3 separate regions of the Homo sapiens genome follow, and regions 1 and 2 are each linked to region 3. Evidence: promoter capture Hi-C in 16 types of primary human blood cells and fetal thymus (Javierre and others, 2016). All regions are on one chromosome and are shown on one strand. The core of a region is centred on a gene start or on the middle of the fragment in contact, and the rest is flanking DNA. Distances in the headings are between cores, read along the strand shown. Region 1 has its middle 6.8 kb from the start of YJU2B. Region 2 holds the start of ADGRL1-AS1 (ADGRL1 antisense RNA 1). Region 3 holds the start of ZNF333 (zinc finger protein 333).

Region 1 (2,865 bases), core at 154-2,653, 950 kb after region 3:
TTATGCGTAAGCATGGGAGCCATATAAAATGTGAGACTTGTAATGCCAGCTACTTGGGAGGCTGAGGCAGGAGAATCGCTTGAACCCGGGAGGCGGAGGTTGCAGTGAGCCGAGATTGCGCCACTGCACTCCAGCGCTGGCGACAGTGAGACTCCGTCTCAAAAAAAAAAAAAAAAAAAAAAAAAAAAGTGGGACTCAAAGAAGGACCAGATGGTTGTGAGTTAAATACTGTCTTCCTAGGGGAGAGAGAAATGGGGAATGTAGGCAGTTTTGAGGGGAAATGAATGATGTTCAGGGGAACTGATGAAGCCCAATGAACAGACAGTGGCCTGGGACAAAGTTCCTCTGAGCTCTTGGGGAGGCGACAGAAAGGTGAGGGCAGAACTTCATTGTGAACAAAGGCCGTCTTATTATGTAGATAAAGTCTCCCATGTAATCTCTCCAAGCTGCACAGAGAGGAGTAGATGAAGTCTGTTTGGACATGATGCCAATTTTTAGTCTTTTCTCTTTGCCAGTGGTTAATATTTCCTGGATATTTGATGAGATTCTTAGGGAGGAGTCATCTTAAGACAACTGCATTTCTTTTGGAAGAAGTTTTCATCAGTCAAATAAGGGAACTTCCAAAGAGAGCCCCTCCCTGTGCTTGGGAGATGGGGAGAAACAAGAGAAAGTTAGGAAGTCCTTGGTTCTGAGGCAGCTTATAAGGCCCTCCAATAGCTTCTTTTGTTTTGTTTTGTTTTGTTTGGTTTGGTTTGAGACAGGGTCTCCACTGTCACCCAGGCTGAAGTGCAGTGGTGCAATCACTGCAGCCTTGAACTCCCAGGTTCAAGCCGTCCTCACACCTCAGCTTTTTGAGTAGTTGGGACCACAGGCACCATGCCTAGCTAATTTTTTTTTTTTTTTTTAATTTGTAGAAACGAGGTCTTCCTGTGTTGCCCAGGCTACTCTTGGGCTCCTGTGCTCAAGTCATCCTCCCACCACTCCAGCCTGGGCATCAAAGAAAGACCCCATCTCTTAAAAAAAAATTTCTGGCCAGGCATGGTGGCTCACACCTGTAATCCCAGCACTTCGGGAGGCTGAGGTGGGCCGATCATGAGGTCAGGGGTTTGAGATCAGCCTGACCAACACGGTGAAACCCCATCTCTACTAAAAATACAAAAATTAGCCAGGCATGGTGGCGTGCACCTGTAATCCCAGCTACTCAGGAGGCTGAGGCAGGAGAATCACTTGAACCCAGGAGGCAGAGGTTGCAGTGAGCTGAGATCACGCCATTGCACTGCAGCTTGGGCAACAAGAGCGAAACTCCGTCTCAAAAAAAAAAAAAAAAAAAAGAAATCTATAAAAGCCAAAGGCCTCCAGCCAGCACAAAGAAAGAAACAGACATCTGGAAAGACTAATTAAAGCCTACCTGGTTTTGACAATATATTACTTATCTCTGGTTGCGTAACAAATTACCCCAAAGTATAGAGGCCTAAAACATTTATTATCTCACTGTTTCTTTGGGTCAGGAATCTGGGTGTGGCTTAGCTGAACCCTATGCGCAGGGCTGCAATTGAGGGTTGGATGTGCTCATATGAAGAGGGTAGGGCTGGGCAGACATCCCAAATGGCTTTGATCACAGCCACAAACCAAATATAAAAATGTCTAAGGCCGGGCACGGTGGCTCACGCCTGTAATCCCAGCACTTTGGGAGCCCAAGGGAGGCAGATCGCGAGGTCAGGAGTTCAAGACCAGCCTGACCAATATGGTGAAACCCCATCTCCACTAAAAATACAAAGATTAGCCGGGCGTGGTGGCGCACGCATGTAATCCCAGCTATTCGGGAGGCTGAGGCAGGAGAATTGCTTGAACTCGGAGGCAGAGGTTGCAGTGAGCCAAGATTGCGCCACTACACTCTAGCCTGGGTGACAGAGCGAGACTCCATCACATAAAAAACAAACAAACAAACAAAAAAACAAAAAACGTCTAACTGGCTGGGCATGGTGGTTCATGCCTGTAACCCCAGTGCTTTGAGAGGCAAAAGCGGGAGGATCACTTGAGGCCAGGAGGTCAAGACCAGCCTCGGCAACATGGTGAGACCCCTGTCTCTACAAAAAACAAAAAATTAGCCAGGCATAGTGGCACGTGCCTGTAGTCCAAGCTACTCAAGAGGCTGAGGTGGAAAGATTGCTTGAGCTTAGAAGGTGGAGGCTGCAGTGAGCCATGATCTCATCACTGTACTCGGCCTGGGTGACAGAGCAAGATTCTGTCTCAAACAAAAATAAATTAAAATTTCTAACTTATGTTAGTTTGCTGAGAGTGATGGCTTCCAGTTTCATGCATGTCCCTGCAAAGGACATGAACTCAATTTTTTATGGCTGCATGGTAGTCCATGGTATATATGTGCCACATTTTCTTAATCCAGTGATAGCATTGGTGGGCATTTGGGTTGGTTCCAAGTCTTTGCTATTGTAAATAGTAATGCAGTAAACATACAGAAACCAAACACCGCATGTTCTCACTCATAAGTGGGAGTTGAACAATGAGAACGCGTGGACACAGGGAGGGGAACATCACACACTGGGGCCTGTCAGGGAATGGGGGCCAAGGGGAGGAAGAGCATTAGGACAAATACGTAATGCATGTGGGGCTTAAAACCTAGATGATGGATTGATAGGTGCAGCAAACCACCACAGCACATATATAGCTGTGTAACAAACCTGCACGTTCTGCACATGTATCCCAGAACTTAAAAAAAAAATTCTAACTTATTTGACCTGCTTTCTGAGCTCTAATTGGTGACTGGAAGGATAAAGAAGCCAGGACTAGACTCAAACTTTGGGTTCCTAGAGAGGAGAAGGAGCTGGAGGCCTGGTATGTGGGAAG
Region 2 (3,183 bases), core at 64-2,563, 550 kb after region 3:
TGTCACACGGGCTCAGGAGCACTCAACTGCGGCTATCAAGACAGCTAAACTGAACTTTCTTTTTTAAAATTTAATTTTAATTTTTAGAGACAGGGTCTCACTCTGACACTCAGGCTGGAGTGCAGTGGCTGGAGCATTCTGGGCTCAAGAGATCCTCCTGCCTCAGCTTCAGGAGTAGCAGACACTACAGGTATGCACTACCACACCTGGCTTATTCTTTTATTTTTTGTAGATATGAGGTCTTGTTATGTTGCCCAGGCTGATCTTGAACTCCTGGCCTCAAGAAATCCTCCATGACCAGCCTCTAAAATTACAAATAATAATAAAAAAAGATATGGCCGGGCACAGTGGCTCACGCCTGTAATCCCAGCACTCTGGAAGGCCGAGGCGGGCGGATCACTTGAGGTCAGGAGTTCGAGACCAGCCTGGCCAACATGGTGAAACCCCGTCTCTACTGAAAATACAGAAAAAAAATTAGCTGGTTGTGGTGGTGGGCACCTGTAATCCCAGCTACTCAGGAGGCTGAGGCAGGAGAATCGCTTGAACCCGGGAGGTAGAGGTTGCAGTGAGCCGAGATCGCGCCATTGCACTCCAGCCTGAGTGACAGCGCGAGATTCCATCTCAAAAAAAAAAAAGTGGCTTCCAAAAAATGTTAATTTTACACCTAATTTTGGTGCGCGGCTGGCATTATTTTTCCACTGGGCAGCACTGATCGCCCGTGGGGGCAGAGACTCTGAGACCTGGAGTCTCCCAGGCCGGGGGCGACGGCCCAGACGGGAGGCGGTGGAGAGAAGTTTCCGGATGTATTATGTGGTCATGAATCATGTCAGGGAATTGCCACGGCCCCCGTTGAATGGGGAGGCGCTGCCTCGGGCGCTGAGTAGCAGAGCCCGGACTCTGAACACTGGTCTGCCCCCGAACTGGAACTCCCATTTTCAGTACCGTCCGCTTGAAACCTCCCAAGAGCCCTCAAGGGGGCGAGAGAGGGATCCAAACCCCTCGGGGGCGAGAGCGGGATCCGAACCCCTCGGGGGCGAGAGCGGGATCCGAACCCCTCGGGGGCGAGAGCGGGATCCGAACCCCTCGGGGGCGAAAGCGGGATCCGAACCCGGCCGGATTCCCGAGGTCTGAGCGCGCCTCGTGACCGCCACTCCGAACGTTCGCAACGTTCACAACGGACTCCCGCGCCGCTGGACCTCAAGGGTCAGGAGCCACTCAGAAAAGCTCCAGGAAACGCTCACCTGTTGACAGACGCTGAGGCCGCAAACGCTCCTCCTCTCTCTTCACACTCGCCAACACCGCGGTGGCGCTCGACTTCCGCTTCTCTCCAGCGAATCCCCAGCTGAGCCTCCTTCTGCTCCCGCCACCATTACCAATCCAGCCAATAAACTCTCAGAAAACCCTCTTTATCTCCGCCCCACTCCCTCCTGCCAATCACTTCGGGTGCGAGCACCGCCCTTCCCGCCTTCTTTAGCGAGCGCCGCGCGCCACCGCTCGGCGGGTGGCGGCGCTGCGCGCTGCGGGATGCATCTCCCGGAAAAGCGAGGCGAGGGGCGGGCCACGCCGGTGCGGGAACCCTCAGGATTGGCCAGAAGGAGGCCGGCGCTGTGACTCCGTCCATTCCCGCCGTTGACATCCAAGTCGGAGACGCTGGGGATTGGTTTCCAGCGGACACGCTAAGAAGCTTGGAGATAGTTTCGCCCTCCTCACACGCTGCGGAGAGGGAGCTCCGCTGATTGGTCCGAGGAGTCTGGGCGCGCGCCGATCGGCGCTCCAGGACTGGCTGAGGGGGTGCGCGCGCCGCCAGGGAGCGTTGGCGGTGATTGGCCAGAGGGCGGAGGCCGGCTATTTGAAGGCGGCGCGCGGACTAGGTGCGCACTTCAGTTCTCGGAGAGAAGAGGCGGGAGTGGACCTGGTCAGCCCTACCCCACTGACCCCACCGGACCCAGGCGCGGCCTCCGCCACAGCCACAGCCCCTGCCCCTGCTGCGGCGCGGCGAGGCGAGGCGATGGCCAAGGTGTCGGTGCTGAACGTGGCGGTCCTGGAGAACCCGAGCCCTTTCCACAGCCCCTTCCGGTTCGAGATCAGCTTCGAGTGCAGTGAAGCCCTGGCGGACGGTGAGGCTGGGCCTGTGCGGGGACCCCCACCCCCGGGCCGACCCCGGCCTCCCCTCAGAGAACCGCTCCCATGGCCAACTTGATCTCCCCCATGAAACCCCTCGTCCCCCTTCCGCCAACCCCGATCTCCCCCAGCCCGCCAGTCAACCGGATCTCCCGGTGGAGACCCCCCGCCACCAGCCAACACGGACCTCCCCGTGACCTCCTCCCCCACTGCCCGCCTTGACCTCCCGGGTGGAGACCCCCCGCCAGCTAACTCGGACCTCCCAGTGGCCTCTTCCCCCACTGCCCGCCCCGACCTCCCCATAGAGATTAACCCCCTCCAAGCCCCATTTCCCGCGTGGGGAACCTCATCCATCTTTTTTCTCTGGAGCTCTTCCTAGGTACCCGTTTTCATGGGGAGACCTTCTCGGCCTCCATTTCTTAACCCACGGAGATCTTCAGCCACCGTGGTTTCCCTGTGGCAAGACCCCCGCTTCAACCACCCACCCATTTTTGCCCACTTATTCCCTCTTTCCTGTAGTGAGATACTCACACCTCCCATTTTCCCTCTGGAGACCCCCAATATCCAGCCCCTTCCCATTTTCCCCGGGGGAAATCCCAGCCATCTCCTATTTTCCCTATGGAGACCTCTCACCCAAGCTCCTCTCTCCTTGCCGTGAAGACCCTCCCCTCCAGTAACCTTTTTTTCCTGTGAAAACCCCTCAACCCCTTTTCAGGACCTCTCTCAACCCCATCTTCCCATTTGTGTCCCACCAGTCCCCTCCCCAACCTGCCAATATTTCAATAACCCCACGCCCACCAGTTGCTGCCGCTTTTCTGCCCCAATGCACATACCCTGGAACCTGGTTTCTCTCCTTCGTTGGGGCCCAACCCCCCTATGCTTGAGCTCTCCCTGGGAAAGGATGCTACCGTCTTTGAGGGGAACTTTGTCTCCCCAGCTCCCCTTCCCCACCTTTCTCTGTGGGCTTGGATAAACACACTGAGATCCGAGGGGTGGCATAGCCAGGCAGGCATTAGCTAGTTCTCCAGGTTTGCCCACCCGTTTCCAGCTGAGTTACTGCAG
Region 3 (2,846 bases), core at 61-2,560:
TCCCTGAAGTTCCATTAGTTTTGAAGCTCTGTGATTCACATGCTTGGGGGAAGGACTGGAGCCAACTTGAAAAGATCTGAATAACAGTCTTAGGTTTTCTTGATAATAATATTTGTGAAATAACTGAGAAACGGCTTTTCTTAACCTAACAGTGAGAAACTTGATGCCCACAGCAGAAGTAAAAGTCGTCTCAAACATAGAAAATAAAGAAAAACAAAAACAAAAAAAATTAAGAACTCCTCCTTTTGTTGTTGTTTTTGTTTTTGAGATGGAGTCTTGCTCTGTCACCCAGGCTGGAGTGCAGTGGCACAATCTCAGCTCACTGCAACCTCCGCCTCTGGGGTTCAAGCGATTCTCCTGCCTCAGCCTCCCGAGTAGTTGGGATTACAGGCGCCCACCACTACGCTCGGCTAATTTGTGTATTTTTAGTAAAGACAGGGTTTCACCATGTTGGCCAGGCTGGTCTCAAACTCCTGACCTCAGGTGATCCACCCGCCTCGGCCTCCCAAAGTGCTGGGATTATAGGAGTGAGCCACCAAGCCTGGCCAAAAGCTTTCTTATGAGAAAGAAAAAAAAGAAGAAAGAAAAAGTTATGGAAAAGGAAGAGATGCAAAGCCAAGCTAACAGATATTAAGCTAAAAGACTTCAAATTGTCAGTCTCCAAAAGAAATCTCTCGTCATCTAATTCATTCCTTAATGGAGGATGCATTCAATTTTTTAAGTAAATTTGGCCAATCAATTAAACCAGTTTGCACATGTGGACCCAGACCTCACTTTCCAGTTGCAAAGCTAGATAATATTAAGTATCATATCAAATAAAACGTGAATTACTAATTCGCAGTTATCTTGCATACTGTAGGCAAGGTAGGGCCGTCTTTATGCACTTTCCCTAAAAATTGGGAAGGACAGGTGAGAGCTGGGGCCGGTGTCACCACATTTCTGAGCTGTGGGACCTGGACTGTTTGGGATTTCCCTTTTGACAGGATGACAGCCCTGTCTGCCCGGACGGGGGGTACCTGAGAGCGAGAGACCGGGCGGCGGGCGCCCAGATGCGAGGCCCTGACTGTGTGGGCCTCACGCCGGCCACCGGCTGATCGCAGGGAGGAAACCCCTCACACAGGCGGAGCTGTTCTAGGCCCTCCAGTCCCTCCCCGCGCCAGCCGAGCCCTCCCCGCCCTCCCCGCCCTCCCGAGGGGCCGGGCCACACCTGCAAGCCAGCCGGAGACACTCCCACCGTGCCGTGCCGCACCGCGCCGCGCCGCGCAGCACAGCTCAGCCGCCGTCGGCCGCCGCCGCGCGCACTTCCGCTTCCGGTCTCGGGGCCGCCGGGAACGGAAGTGGCTGTGGCTCAGGCTGTTGTGGCCAGGGTAGCCTTAGGCGGCGGCAGAGAAACTAACGTCTTCTTTAGCCTCCAAGGAGAAATTCTAGTATTCTTACCCGGGGGATGAGGTTAGGCTCTGGAGTGGGGTCCCACAGAGCATGGAGGGTGGTGCTGGGGGCGGAGCCTATGTCCGAGAGACAGGGATAGGGGTGGGGCTTAGGTCCCGGGGCAAAAGTGGGGCGGGGCCTGTGCGCGGGGGCGGGGTGGAGTGTGGCTTGCCCTCCGATGGCTGATGGGCGGGGCTTGCACCCCAATGGCGGAGTGGGCGGGGCCTTGGTTTGCAGGGTGGTAGTAGGGGCGGGTCGTGCGCCTCAGGGGCAAAAATGGGGCGGGGCTTGTGCTTGGGGTGGGAATGGGAGCTGAACTTGCATTCGGAAGGCGGGATGAGGGGACCTGGGCTTCAAGGGTTGAGAGGGGCACACCCGACCCCTCCCCGGGTCTCTTTAGGGATGCTCAATATTTAACTTACCCTTTTCTCCTTCCTTTTCCCCAACCCCTTCCACCTTTATCCATGGGCTTAATCCAATCCCCTACAAAAATATACCCATACTTAAGATTGTTTTTGTATATTTTTATACGGCTGACCCTTAGGCAACGGGAGTTGGGGCGCCACCCTGTGCAGTGGAAAATTCACTTCTTTTGACTCCCCCAAAACCTACCTACTAATAGACTACTGTTAACCAGAAGCTTTACCAATAACATAAAGTTAGTTAACACATATTTTGTATATTATATGCCATATTCTTAAAATAAACTAAGCTCAGAGAAAAGAAAGTGTTATTAAGAAAATCATGAAGAAGAGAAAATATATTTACTCTTCGTTACGTGGAAGTGATCGTAAAGATCATAAATAAACGTCTTCATCGTCAGCTTCACCCTGAGTAGGCTGAGGAAAGGGAGGGGTTTGTCTTGCTGTCCCAAGGAGGACAAAGGTAGAAAAAAATCTACCTATAAGGGGATAGCCACAGTTCAAACCCTTGGTGTTCACGGGTCAACTAACTGTCTTTATTCTAAAAATAGGACGATGTATTTTTGTTTCTTCTACAGCTTGCCCTTCTCACTAAAAATAAGATGTGTGAATCTAAGACATAGATCTGACTTTTTAAAAACTATTTATTATGTAGTATACATAGTACATACCTATGGGAAAAGTTCAAACGGGAGGCTCACTCTATTCCTAAATTTTCCTCCCCTGAAACAACCACTGTCACTAGTTCCCTGGTATTCTTTATATATCAAGCACATGTGCAGTCATGCACCACATAACAAGGTTTTGGTCAACCACGAAACACATACACAGTTGTGATCCCATAAGGTTATAATGGAGCTGAAAATTTCTTATCACCTAGTGATGTTGTAACTGTCACAATGTTGCAGTGCAACACATTACTCACATTTAAAAAGGTTTTAAAAATATGAAAAGACCGGGCGCGGTGGCTTACGCCTGCAATCCCAAGACTTTGGA

The links. Contacts are between HindIII fragments. The CHiCAGO score rates a contact against its expected background, and 5 or more counts as called.
Region 1: a contact is called between a fragment that was not itself captured here and the fragment with the promoter of ZNF333 in region 3, in 1 of 17 cell types (naive CD4 T cells). The highest score is 5.3, in naive CD4 T cells.
Region 2: a contact is called between the fragment with the promoter of ADGRL1-AS1 here and the fragment with the promoter of ZNF333 in region 3, in 7 of 17 cell types (fetal thymus, naive CD8 T cells, naive CD4 T cells and 4 more). The highest score is 9.7, in fetal thymus.

The regions. Positions count from the first base shown.
Region 1 is chr19:13,739,618-13,742,482 of GRCh38, reverse strand. It overlaps a transcript of YJU2B not described here. Among named protein-coding and RNA genes, the nearest start is that of YJU2B, 6.8 kb to the left of the region's middle. The HindIII fragment of the contact is 6,340 bases long and covers 1-2,865 here.
Region 2 is chr19:14,135,282-14,138,464 of GRCh38, reverse strand. It overlaps ADGRL1-AS1 (ADGRL1 antisense RNA 1), which reads right to left and starts at 1,313. Exons shown (of 3, transcript NR_045214.1): 1 at 1,242-1,313. ASF1B (anti-silencing function 1B histone chaperone) reads left to right here and starts at 1,876. Exons shown (of 4, transcript NM_018154.3): 1 at 1,876-2,117. The coding sequence starts at 2,009. RefSeq lists enhancers at 1,231-1,390, 887-1,513, 1,591-1,730 and a silencer at 2,061-2,110. The HindIII fragment of the contact is 2,792 bases long and covers 1-1,686 here.
Region 3 is chr19:14,688,512-14,691,357 of GRCh38, reverse strand. ZNF333 (zinc finger protein 333) reads right to left here and starts at 1,310. Exons shown (of 12, transcript NM_032433.4): 1 at 1,208-1,310. RefSeq lists silencers at 967-1,336, 1,667-1,716. The HindIII fragment of the contact is 1,516 bases long and covers 555-2,070 here.